Linked DNA regions of Homo sapiens: region 1 is linked to region 2. Evidence: promoter capture Hi-C in 16 types of primary human blood cells and fetal thymus (Javierre and others, 2016). All regions are on one chromosome and are shown on one strand. The core of a region is centred on a gene start or on the middle of the fragment in contact, and the rest is flanking DNA. Distances in the headings are between cores, read along the strand shown. Region 1 overlaps LOC105370273 (a long non-coding RNA gene). Region 2 holds the start of POU4F1 (POU class 4 homeobox 1).

Region 1 (6,716 bases), core at 1,453-3,952, 370 kb after region 2:
TTATTTTCTCTTTTTTCTATCATGGACTTGAGCCAAGACAGGCTTCCAGTGAACCTGACACAACATCACTATGGGCATCTAACATGTTGAGATAATTCTGTCTTTATCTCTAGAAGGCTAAGATATAGGCCTCTATGAGCAAGAGAACATGAGGGGAATCATCCTTTATTTTTTTCTCTCATGGCTTGATAAGAGTGGAAATGATACTTCCAGTGGTGTCCATATTGTGGGCAGTGCTATAAAGCTTACACTCCAATAGAAACCATATCCTTCTGGCTTGATGAATAGGTTATAGGGGACTCTTCAATCAGGAGAGTATTAGGATGAGTCCCATTTTCTGTCTTTGTTCTTGCCTGAGATGGCCACAATCATTGGAGTTATTCAGTATGCAAAGGCAGCAAGGAATTTAGCCCCAAGTTAAATTCCATATTTTTGGCCTGAAGATCAGGGAAAGAGGTCCCTTCCAACTGAAAAGTGTGGGGGAAATCCTGGAGATGAGAGATTTGGAGAAAGGAGTCCCCTAATTCTGCGAATAAACAAGTTTAGCTTCTGGGTTTACTCTCGAAGTGTACTTGTGCAGGATAGATCCAAAAGTGCACAGCAAAAGTTTTGATAGTGGAACCTCAATTTTAAAATATCACCTAGGTCTTACACTAACCTCTGAGTGGTACATGCTCACAGTGGACCCCAAATGGCATATCAAAGGCTTCGCTAATTGAACTGACATTGGAACAATCATTTCCATAAAGTGAGACAGAAATTGCAATCTGAACCTAACTTGGTGAATGCCAAGCAAACCACCACAACCACCAAAAAAAAAAAAAAAAAAGTATATTTTCCTGAGGATTTTAATAGAACCTAGAATGTAAACAACATATTTAAAATGTCTAGGTTGCAATACAAAAGTATTCAATTTACAAAGTACTCAAAAATTGTGACAAATTCCAAAGGGAAAGATTATCAATAAGTGCCAATCTTGAGATGATCCAGATGTTAGAATTATCAAAGACTTTAAAGCATCTATTATAAGTATGTTCCATCAGATAAAGGCAAACATTCTTGAGTAGAAATATGAAAGTTATCAATAGAGAAATAGAAATCATAAGTAAAAAATATTGCAACTATCTGAAATAAATCTTATAACTTATTTTTTTAAATTCTCACAATTTGCCTTCTACTGTGCAACTCCTCTCACATTTTCAATCTGAATCTGGTAGATCCTTCTCTGTCCTCCTCACTGTTTTTTCTTCTTCCACCAAGATCTCATTTTTGTCATTGATTTCTTCTCATTTTACTACATATTTTCATATGTAAGCTTATACACAACTTATCTACTCCTACTATCTTTTTCTCTATACCTACCATTCATTCTTTATACTATGGCTTTTATGCTTTTGCTTCCAACAATCCACAGAAGTTGCTCTAATTCAGTTGGTCAGTGAAACTCTTTATGGCTAAAGGCAATGGACAATTTTTAGTTCACATTATTAATATTCTTTTCTGAATATGTTTCTGGTGGCCACAGTACTGGGTAGAATTAGATGTTCAATACGTTTATTATTTAAATTAGTGAATGGCTACTCCCTTAGCTCCCATGTAAACAAAATTTTCTTTTTAAGAAATGAAAATCCTTTTGGCCATTTTTCTACATTTCCCATATGGGTTCCTCTTGCTTTCCCCACCCATTAATTGTTGGTGTTCACCAGAGTTTTATCATCAGCCTACTGGTCTTCCTTTTCAACACAATCTCCTGAATATTACTTACTCTCCTAATTTGGCTTAAAGGCTATATGCTATTGACATTTAAATTATTTATCTGTAGGTCTAAAAATTTTCAAATCCTCATTTGAGTATTTCCACTTAAAAGTCTTAAAAATACACCACTAACACCCCTAAACCTGATTCTCTTTTTGCATTATAAAATACACAGTTTGTGGTACTATCATGCTCCTGAGACCCTAGGAAAAAACTTGATAAAATCATCCCTCTTTCTTACCCTGGCCCTATCTTGTCACATAGATTTGCTGGTTTTACTTCCTAAGTATTTCTCAAGTCACTGTTTCTGTCTGTTGTACTCTTATTGTTTAATTCAATCTTAATCCATTTCTGACCTACAAAATTGCAATATACCCCTACTATGAGCTTCCTTTCTTTTTCCCCTACAATTCCAAACAGTTCCTATGTAGAGTTCTTAGCAATAGAAATATGATTATCTATTATTTTCTTCAAACTTATAATTAGCTGCTACTCTCTATGAAATAATTCCTAGCTCTGTGTTATTTCCTCTCTGGCAGTCCTTCCAGGCTCCTTTCTTGCCACTCCCTGCCTCACGTTTTAAACTCTAACAGTAGTAAACTACTTATAATTATCCAAAATAACCCTGTGGTTATGATTTCATAAACATTTGTTTTATATCTGTTGTCTGTAATAGTCTTCCCCCATCCTGCCTCTACAAATAATAATTATAATAGTTGATGTTTATTGAGCACTTACTATGTCTAGCAATAGCTTTGTCTTGATAGGGACCCTTGCATTTAATCCTCAGAACTACGTTGAGATAGGTATTGTAGAACTACTATAATCACCATTTTAGAGATGAGAAAACCAAGGAACAGAAAAGTTTAAGTGACTTACAAAAGAAAATAATAAGCCCAAAACCTAAACCAGACATTATAACTCCAGAAACTGCAAATTACCATACTTTATAGTATCCAAAGATCTTCTATCCAACTTTCCACACTCAGCTCAGAAATCACCTTTAAGAAAACATCTTTGAATAGACCGGGCATGGTGGCTCATGCCTGTAATCCCAGCTCTTTGGGAGACTGAGGCGGGCAGATCACGAGGTCAGGAGACTGAGCCCATCCTGGCTAACACAGTGAGACCCTGTCTCTACTAAAAATAAAAAAAAAAAAACTAGCCAGGCGTGGTGGTGGGCACCTGTAGTCCCAGCTACTCGGGAGGCTGAGGCAGGAGAATGGCTTGAACCCAGGAGGCAGAGCTTGCAGTGAGCCGAGATCGCGCCACTGCACTCCAGCCTGGGTGACAGAGCGAGACTCCATCTCAAAAAAAAAAAAAAAAAAAAAAAAAAAGGAAAAAAGAAAACATCCTTGAATAATAAAGACAATCACCCTTCTAAGCTCAGTTAGAGGCCTCTCTACTGGTCTCCCAGACTACCCTGCGCATCTTATAATAGAGGACACCTTGCAGGATCATTACCTGATTGATATCTGTTGTACTTCCACTAAACGTAATTCTTCAGTGGCATGGGTTATATTTTATCTAACTTTGTAGCCAAAGCACCTTGCAAAGTACTTCATACAGTGGTCACTCAATAAATAGTTGTTCAACTAAACATAAATAGCTGTTAGCCCAGACCTCTGTGCTTTTAGACATCTACTGGACGCCACTGTTTAAATCCGCCCATCAGTACTTAAGGACTTGGATAAAATTAAATTCCTATATTTTCCTTTCTATTGCTCAAGATTGTCCTTGACTCTGCCATTCCTTTCTTGAATAATATACTAATGTCTTTACAATTAACCAAATCAGAAGTCTAGGAAGCATCAAAGACTTTTGTATTGTGCCCAGTAACTAATTGGTCATCAAGTGCTTTAAGTTCTATCCTCTCTATATCTCTTAAGTCTTTCCTCTTTCCCATAATCCCATTGCTTCTGGTGCTTCCCTCCAACTCAGAAATTATTTTGAGACATTGCCTCTCCTCACATGCATATCATTACCTCTTTCCTCATCACTGGCCTGCAAGATTCTTGAGAAAAAGGATAATCTTTTCATCTTTGTACTTCTAAGTCATGCGTGTGTCCTCTTGAGTCATGAGTAAAGACGTGAGTCAAGCAGCTCATCTCATTGGCTGGTAGCTATTAACTTATACTCTGAAATAATCTAAAGAGAAAATTTCTCTCACAAAGGATTATACCTATAATAACCCCCAGAATTGTTCATAAATATTACAGTTCTTCTCTCTTTTCAGGTGTATTGTAGGATTACACTTCCTTACCCATTTCAAAGTTAGGTGGGCATGACTTGATTCAGTTAATGAAATAGAAAGGATTGGATGACCTCTGGACAGAAGCTTTAAAAAATAGTTCATAATTTGACCCATCCCCTTCCTCTTGCTGCAGTGATTAAGGAAGGATGTGTGAATGAAAAATTTGTCATATAAAATGTGAGAAATAAACTTTTGTTATATTAAGGCACTGATGTCTTAGGATTATTTGTTACTGCAACATAACTTAGCCTATCCTAACCAGTATAATGTCCTTGGGTACTGGTATTATTTCTTTTCTAGAAGAGTGATGTTCAGGGCAAATCATGCTGCATGTCCCTTTCTTGTCCCACGGACATTTTTATCTAAATGAATTCAGGTTAAAATTAGCATCAAGGGAAGCCTTGAAATGGAATTCAAAGTCCCAATTTGGCGATATTCAACATAAGAATTATGTGTGGAATGAAAAGGGTAATCATATTTGCTTTGAAGGATAATTATGAGCTAATTGTGTGCAAGAATAATGTAACCACTTTTATTCATAACTCTTCTTTTCTCTCTGCTGAGTGTGTAGCACACAGGCTGATCCAGTCAGGGATAATATACCTTCTGGAAGACTTGTAGAGTGATCAAAAGGATACATGCCACAGATATTTTATTGGGGTTTCATAAGTAAGACATTAAGTAAAAAGTTTATCCCCCAAATAACTCAATATGGGAAACATGATAGCATTATAATTATGCTTACTATGCATTTAGAGTTTGCAATGAACCACTAATTGTATACAGTCTATATCCTGCGAGAAAGCTATATAGGTATTTTACATGTATATGTGTGTGTGTGTGTATATGTGTGTGTGTGTATATATGTGTGTGTGTATATTTATACAGACATGTATTTTATATATAATTTATACATATATTTATACAGACATGTATTTTTGATCATCAGTTCCTCCTTGCTAGAAAAAGTAGGAAGTTGACTCTGAGTCACCCTTCATTAACCACAATGCTCACCTTTCCTCTGCAAGGAACCAAATGTCAAATAATCCCAGCGATTTAAGGCATTTCTAAAAGTCATTATAAGCTCACTTGTCATTTTCTAAATTTCTTCTGATGCACATGTTCAGCGTCCTGGAGCTTCTTTTTCTTTTATATTTTCTATTATTATTATTATCCGTCATATCAACACTGTCCATTTCTTTTTTCTTTTTTTTTTTTTTGGTCTATTATTCCTTAATTCCTGTTTTTACTTAGAGGATTGAACTATTTTTCTCCCCTAAGAAAACTGCCATTGATCAGAAAACAGTTGGCTTTTGGCTTCAGTTCAAATGACCTCTTTCCCTCAGGAAGCAAACCAAACTTTGTAGGGTCCTTTATGTTTGGGAATCACGGAACACACCAGCTCTAGTGACACCTCCCTCATTAAGCCTCTCTTTATTCCCTGGGACAAAACTACCTCCTTACATTAGACAGTACTTTGTTCTGTTTTCTATAATAATACCACACTGCTGTACTGTGACCTGCCCTCTTAAAGGTCTTTCTCCTACACAAGACATGAAACTCCCTAAGGGCAGAAAATGTGTTTTTTCCATCTTTCCACCTCTGGTTGTTCAGAGTCTCATGCATTATTTTTAGAATAGAGCCCGTTAAGTCACACTCAACATTATAGAACAGAAGTCTCAAATTGCAGTCTTTGGGACCAGCAGGCATATTCTGTTCAACCCACGAAAAATTGCCCAGCACAGGGCTTTAATATTTTCAAATAATTGCCAAATTTAAGAATTGACAGACTTATCATTTTTCGAAATCCAGAATCCTAGCTCAATATTTAACAAACAAACAGAACAGCAATTAGGAGATTAGGCAACGCTGAGTTCACCTTTCAACATGGAAGCAGCTGCTGGAGCTTAGTAATGGCCGCCATCTTTGAAATGGACACCATGGGTCCAGTTCTCATTAGTTTACCACAGTTTGCCACAAATGGCATGTACAGCTCATAAGCCATCAGAATAGCACCTAAACATGATGGCCTCTTGGGAACAATTTTCAGGTGAGTGGTTTCAGGATGGAGCAGTCTTCTGATTTTCAGACCAAAGATGAAAATGAATGTTGACATAGCTGGACCCTCTGGCCAGGGAAGCCCTGAACTAGCTTCTTCTCGCCTCCAGGGTGAGGTAGCTTTGGTATGGCTGCTTCAAACCAGAGCATACTTTGCACCCTCTCTGCTACTCTGAAAAATCTACTCAGAGTTCAGCTTAACTGTAAGGATTTAAATAACAAGAGAGCAAAGTGGTAACCTAGTCACTTTTTAATGCAGATGCCTTGTGAAGTCCAGGGTCTCAGTAAATTTTGGGGTATGACTCTGGAAAATTACTTACATTAAAGCCTTCAGTGTCTCAGTCTGCCTCTGTATCTTCTTCTCTTTTGTTCCTAACTCTTCTCTTTTCCCTCCCATGCTTCATAATTAAATGTATTTCTGCCCTATTCATGCAAATGATCTCCAGTAATTTTCTCATCATCCTAATATTCAATCTTATTCACTTTTATTTTTTTATCTCTGCATGTTTCTTGTGTCTTAAGTGTGTGGAGTTAGAAAAAGTAAGACCACAACAAAAAAATCAACGCCTTTTTAAATTATGAAAGTAAAATAAATTTCTTATAGAATTTTCAAAAAAAAGTAACAGAAAATCAAAATGATCCAGTCCTC
Region 2 (6,549 bases), core at 33-2,532:
GCCCGCGCCGCCCGCGCCGGCCATGAGCGCGAGCGACGGCGAGGAGATGTGGTCCAGCAGATCGCCGGGTTCGAGCGCCTGGTGGTGGTGGTGGTGGTGGTGGTGGTGCGCCAGAGGCACCGTGGAAGTGGACGTGCACGGCACGCTGTTCATCGTGTGGTACGTGGCGTCCGGCTTGAAAGGATGGCTCTTGCCCTGGGACACGGCGATGTCCACGGCCGCCAGCGCCTCGGCCCGCGCCAGCAGCGTCTCGTCCAGGCTGGCGAAGAGGTTGCTCTGCAGCTGCAGGCGACACAAACCAAACCAAAAAAACCACAAAACCAAAAGAGCAAAACAAAACAACAGAAGAAACACACACACAGGCCGGAAAGCACAGCATGCGAAGGGCAAACACAAAGCAACCAAAATAACAACGGGTTTGGGGGCAGTGGAGAGCGGGAAAGACGGAGAGGGGGCACATTGACGACCAGGGAGGGGGCAGACGAGAAGGGATGGGAGCGTGGAGAGGGGGACAGAAGTAGGGAGAAAGGGGGACACAAGAACACATTCCGGAAACGGGCGTGGGAGACGAAAAAGAGGGAAAAGAAGAAATGGAAATGTAACTCGCAGCTGGGGACCCGTGTCACACACCCGAGCACGCACAGAGACTGCCTTTCTGAGGCGTGAAATTAACAGAGAAAGTAGAGGGAAGTCGAGAGTCCTGGCCCCAGCGCTCCCTACTCCGATCGCAGGCGCCTGACGCGGAGGCAGAGGCAGACAGGAACACGACATTAAGGGCCGCCGGACAAAACGTGCCTCGCTGCGGGACTGCTCTACACCCCCTGCCCGCAGTTCCCCGCACCGGGACCTGCACACACCAGCCCCCGACATGCAGCGTTTCGGAGACGGGGAGGGGCGGGCGCGCGGGCCGGGGCCGCGGGCGTGGGGCGCTTACCGGCGGCGTGGGCAGGCAGGCCCGCCGGATGGCCTCGGAGCTGGAGTGCAGCGACGGGTACTTGTGCTCAGGGAGGGTGGGATGCATGGCAAAGTGAGGCTGCTTGCTGTTCATGGACATCATCGTGGCGGCTTGGCATGTATATCCACAAACACTCCGAAAGTCCGCGGGAAAGTGCGTACGCCGGCTCACCCGGCCTCCCTTCGGAGGCTGCAGCCGCGGCGGTCGCGGCGGCTGGCGGCGGCCCCGCCGCGGGCTGCTGCTGCTGCTCCTGCTGCTGCCAGGCGCTCCCTCTGACCGCGCAGAGCGCCGCGCGCCGGCCTCGCGGTCCCGCTTCTCCGACAGCTCTAGCCCCGCGCGCCGACGGGATGCACTCCTCTAACACCTGAGCCCCACTTCTCGCGGCCGTCCCGGGGAGCTCTCGCGAGAGCTCGCGGCCCCACCGCGCTGACAGGCATCAGCTGTCTCCGTCTGTCTGACGCGCGCTCTCCTTCTCGGCGGCCCCGTGCGTCTGCGCGCGCGCGCGCTCGTCCGGCCGCGACCAGCGCGTGGGAGCCGCTCTTATAGTGACCACCAGCAAGGACAGCGCAGGTGATGCACCTGTAGCTACCCGGGCATGCGCACTGCCCGCCTCACCTTTCCCACCGTGGTCTGGAAAGATCAGAAGGTCCAGCTATTGTCTAAGGGTGGGCACCTTTTAGAATAAAAAAGACGAGATGCGCGCACGCCCCTCTATGTGTGTGTGTGTGTGTGTGTGTGCGTGCGTGTGTGTGTATGTGTGTATGTTTCTTCTCCCTGATAGCAAGCCTTGAATATATGAGCATTACTTAGGCATTCCTCCTCTTCGGGATGCCTAACAAGCTGTTGTATAATGTATACAGCTGGACATTTCTACGTTAAATTATGCCCGCGCATTCCTCTGTATACAGTATAAATAACAACACAGAAATGCAGAAGGTGCTGTCTTTTGCTGCAAGAACCTGTTTCTTTAAAGGTTTATAAATAGGTTCCTGGAGAATAATCGCGGTGACAGACATTTGTTTGAAGCAGTCAGACGCTATTGATTTCCATATAATTTAATTTCCTCCGCATACTTTTTTGTTGTTGTTGTGAATATAACTGTGTCAGGCACCGCCAGTGACAGCCACTTAGGAGCCACAAGGAGCGTGTGCTTTCTACTCGGGAAAAGCTGTTGAAATGAAATTGTGCATTTCTCTTATTGTTTGTCTCCTTCAACCGTGTACAAACCCACGTTTCAAACGAGCTCCGGGTGATCTAAGGCTTCTAGTAATCAAAAGGAAAAAACAGTTAACAGGGTGTAGTTGGGATCCTTCCTCCCCTCAGCGTACACACACACACACACACACACACACACACACACACACTTTATGCTGGGAACTCCAGGAAAACTGCTTCAGAGAAAAGGGAATAAGATGTTGAAAAGAGAACTTTCTTTTCCCTTCCATCTTTTTGGCTTTTTGCCTCATATCTCTGCCTGCTTATATATATTTTTTTCAATAGGAGACAGATCAAACTAACTTACAGGAAAGCTTGATTCAAAAATATTAAATCAAGCCAATTTGAAAGAACGGGGACAAGCTCTGGTCCAGTTTTTAAATTTTTAAAAAATTATTGTGAAATTAAGACCTAAAAAGAATAAATCAATTAGCCAACCTGTTATATGGCCCTTATGTGGTAGCAGATCAAGAGCCTCCCAGGGGAGCCACAGTTCAGGTGCCAAAGTCCCCAGGGAAGGAGCACTTGCTCGCGGTGATAATAACCTAACAGCCCAGATGTTATCACATCTGCGGTAAGAGAGCTGGAGAGCAGCAAGGGGCTGCTTATGGAAAGCAGAAATCAGATAATCTTTCTGTTCTCTCCCACACCAAGGAAGTCTGTATTTCCACCAAAGAGCAGATCTCATTTCTATAAACCTAAATTTGCGTTCCCGTGGATTTTATCTTTCCTCTGCACAAATGCATGTGTGTTTAGCATACCCACTCACCTACTCAGATTCCAAGAAGAGCCCACAGGCGTCACCATGGCTTTTTCTTTCTTTCTTTTCATGTTCCCCCCCACCCCCTCCCTTCCTTCTAGCTCCAGAGGGAAGTGAGAAGGATGTTCACTTGCTGGTGAGAGAAGGAGCTGGTTCCATCCATTACGCAGTCCCCTGGGAGCGCTAAATGCAACTTTATCTCAACGGGGAGTGGACGATGAGCAGGACGTCGCTAGAGGGAAAGAGTGAGTCCTACGGTAGTCATCACACCGGGAGTCCGGGCTTAACCTAGTCCTTCCTGACACCCCTGGTGGCCGTTCCCTGCGCTCTCTCTTGACGGGAAAGAAAAGGCCCCCACAGAGGGTGAGGGCCTGGAACCTGCCCCTCCCCTCTCAAGGAAGCGCTGGTCTTTAGGGACCCTGAAGGGTACAGGAGCAACAGAAAGGTAAACAGTACAGGTTTGCGGCCGGGTGGGGCCTCTGAGAGCCAGGTGAGCTCCTGAGTACCCAAAAGGCACCTCGGTTCACCCTCCAACCCTGGGAGGCTTCCATTAAACCCAGCGGAGAGATGCCACCTTAGCCTGAAGTTAGGAGTTAGTCCCACCAAGATTTCCTTCCCTGTTCACCTCTCTTTCGACAACAGGAATACCCCACCTTGGGGTGAGGCCAGATCTTTGCTTGGGGTATTGGGTGTTTTGATGGGACCAGAAACATGAGGGCTATGGGTACAATCCTCCCTCCCCCTCCCACCATGGATAGGAAGCCCATCTAGGATACATCCATCTTCACTATAGCACTTAGTGCAGAGTTTGTCACAGGAAAAGTACCCCACCAAAAAACACGTGTGTAGGAAGGAAGAGAGGCCAGTTTCGGGTAGCCTGGGGGAGGGGTGGTGGCCTAGGGGCTGTTCAACAATCCAGGGCTGGTTGGAGATTGCAGGAAGATCCCTGGGTGGGGGGATGGGGGGGTCTACATTCTCCTTAAAAAGGAGGGGTGTGTTTTCCCCAGGCAGAGCTGTAAATTTTTATTCCAGCCTGTTCTTTTTCAGGAGCCAATTATTTCACTCCGCCCTCATTAACTTGCTACCTTATCTTCCTTCCTCAAATTCTTGCTGAGCGGTAGTCTGGCCCAGTACAAGACACTGGAGATAAAATGAGGTATACAATATGAGTACCTGCCCTGCAGGAGGTGACAGTGTATGTGCGTGGGGAAGCCACGGATAAAAGGCATCTATGACACAGGTATAACAGGTGTGATGAGAGGGATGTGTATAGAAATATGGAGCGGGTGATGCTTGGACAGTTATCATGCCTCATCCTCGTTGGTTCTCAGCCCAGGCTAAAGAATAGGGCATGCTGGCACATCTGCAGGCAGTTCCCTGGACCATATCAAGCCTCTCCCTACTTTCCTCCTGATGCGTAAAAGGAAAAGGTGGTGGGCTTGGGCTCAGCTCACCCATATGTCACTGTTTTGTTTTCCTGGTTTGGCAACTGCTGTAACTCGTTGGCCCCTGCCTGTGCTAATGATACCCACATGGGGTCTGAGCCTTGGCATAGATTCCTGGGCAATTTTTTTTCCTTCTTATTTAATGACCAACACAGATCTCCTCCTCCTCCTCATCTCATAGCTTTGCATTTTATCAAGAGAAGGATAATGAATGCACAACTATTGATTTCCAAGGAATTTCCGCCCCCAGGGACAGGGAGTCTATCATGTGGATCAGAGACACATTTCTTTCCCTCATTAATTAATTTTCTCCTCCTCCTTTGGCAGGCCTCACTTCCCGTTTCCTTTGGCAGCGCCCTTTTCCCGACCTAAGGGAGCAGACCTTCGTTGGTTGGCGTGAGGACTGGCGGGAGAGGTTTTGTGCCAGGATCCGCACTGTCTGGGGTGAACGCTCCTCACCTTTGACCTGAACCGCCAACTTCCCATCCTCCACTTTTGGAGAGCGCGCCTGATAGCTGCTGCCCACCTGGGCACTGACATCCTCCTTCCGACCGGGTGCGGAGAAAGTTAGTATTTGACTCCGCAGCCACTACTCGCCCCACCTTCTCACCTCCGAGGGGTTGAACCCGAGTTGTCTGTTGGGGTTTAGGGACTCAGGATCGGGTCTGAGGGACTTCGACATAAGTGCGTGGCGGTAGTGGGTATACAGGGGAGGGGGGCCGGGCCCCTCGCTCCTTCTGGAAACCGGGCCCCACTTGCAGGCCCGGCCACCTTGGGTTCTGGTGGCCGAAGCCGGAGCTGTGTTTCTCGCAGACTCGGGGAGCTACATTGTGCGTAGGCAATTGTTTAGTTTGAAAGGAGGCACATTTCACCACGCAGCCAGCGCCCTGCATGCAGGAGAAGCCCCCAGGGCCCAGGGTCGGCTGGCTTTAGAGGCCACTTAGGTTGTTTTAAGCACATGTGAAAGGGCAGACAGCAGGGGAGCAGGATATGGGTAAGATCTTCGGGTCTCAGAACAGGGGCTGCCCTTGGGCTGTCCCGGCGCCCTGGGCTCTGACACTGAAGGGTGGAATGGAGGAAGGAATGGAGAAAGGACGGTGGAACTTTCGCTTCCCCTCTGGGCCGCCTTCCCAGGGTCATGCCTGAGCTGCTTTGATCCCAGTGTCGCGCATCTTGGTCCGCTACCTCCCAGGCGATAGCTACTGGGCTCCTCGCTGGCCTCACTGGGGGCCATCCCGGGCAGTGGCCTGCCCTCCGAGGCCCGCGGGACCCAGCCCAGAGCTGAGGTTGGAGTTCTCCGGGCCACGTTCCGGGTCGCTTAGGCTCGGAGATTTCCCGGAGACCGTCGTCCTCCCTTTCTGCTTGGCACTGCGGAGCTCCCTCGGCCTCTCTCCTCCTCTGGTCCCTAAGGCCCGGAGTGGTTGGCGGTACTGGGGCCCGTCGTCATCTCTGCTTCTAAGGCATTCAGACTGGGCTCCAGCTGGGACCGGCAGAGGAGGTTCTCAAGGAAACTGGTGGGAAATATAGTTTTCTTTCGTCTGGTCGTTTAATTTAAATGCAACTTCCCTTGGGGACATTTTCCTGGACGTTAACCAGACCACCTTGAGATGTCGTTGATGACCTAGAGACCCAGATGATGCGTCCCAGGAAAGTTCACTGCTGACTATTGTCACTCTTGGCGTTATATCTATAGATATAGACCTATGTACATATCTCCACCCTGATCTCTCCGTGGACATGAAACCCACCTACCTTGTGAAAGCCCTACGGGTGACACATGACTACTACGTCTCTGTCCCAACAGGGGCTGGGCCTCCCCTGCCTAATAGTTGCCAGGAGTTTCGCAGCCCAAGTGAATAATGTCTTATGGCTGAACGTGGCCAAGGACTCCTGTGATTTAGGTCCCAGGAGGAGCAGAGACGTCCCCGCCCCGCCTGGGCCCTGCCGCATTCAAAGCTGGAAGAAGGCGCTGATCAGAGAAGGGGCTTCCAGGTCCTGGGTTAGAACAACAACAAACAAACGAAACTCCACAACAGACACGCCTGCCCATGACCCCACGCAAGGACATAGGAAGTTCTGTCGCCTTCCTGCTCCGCGGATAGCCGCCTGCCGTCTGCTGCCACCAGAACGCACGGACGCTCGGGGTGGAGGTAGTCAATGGGCAGCAGGGGACC

The links. Contacts are between HindIII fragments. The CHiCAGO score rates a contact against its expected background, and 5 or more counts as called.
Region 1: a fragment that was not itself captured here is called in contact with the fragment with the promoter of POU4F1 in region 2 in 1 of 17 cell types (M2 macrophages); the score reaches 5.9 in M2 macrophages.

The regions. Positions count from the first base shown.
Region 1 is chr13:78,966,805-78,973,520 of GRCh38, forward strand. The region is part of intron 2 of LOC105370273 (a long non-coding RNA gene); the gene reads right to left. Among named protein-coding and RNA genes, the nearest start is that of LINC00331, 130 kb to the left of the region's middle. The HindIII fragment of the contact is 2,778 bases long and covers 1,314-4,091 here.
Region 2 is chr13:78,602,270-78,608,818 of GRCh38, forward strand. It overlaps POU4F1 (POU class 4 homeobox 1), which reads right to left and starts at 1,283. Exons shown (of 2, transcript NM_006237.4): 1 at 935-1,283; 2 at 1-282. The coding sequence starts at 1,057. It overlaps OBI1-AS1 (OBI1 antisense RNA 1), which reads left to right. Exons shown (of 6, transcript NR_047001.1): 4 at 3,032-3,175; 5 at 4,703-4,941. RefSeq lists a silencer at 1,074-1,233 and enhancers at 4,351-5,212, 5,213-6,072. The HindIII fragment of the contact is 4,390 bases long and covers 1-2,482 here.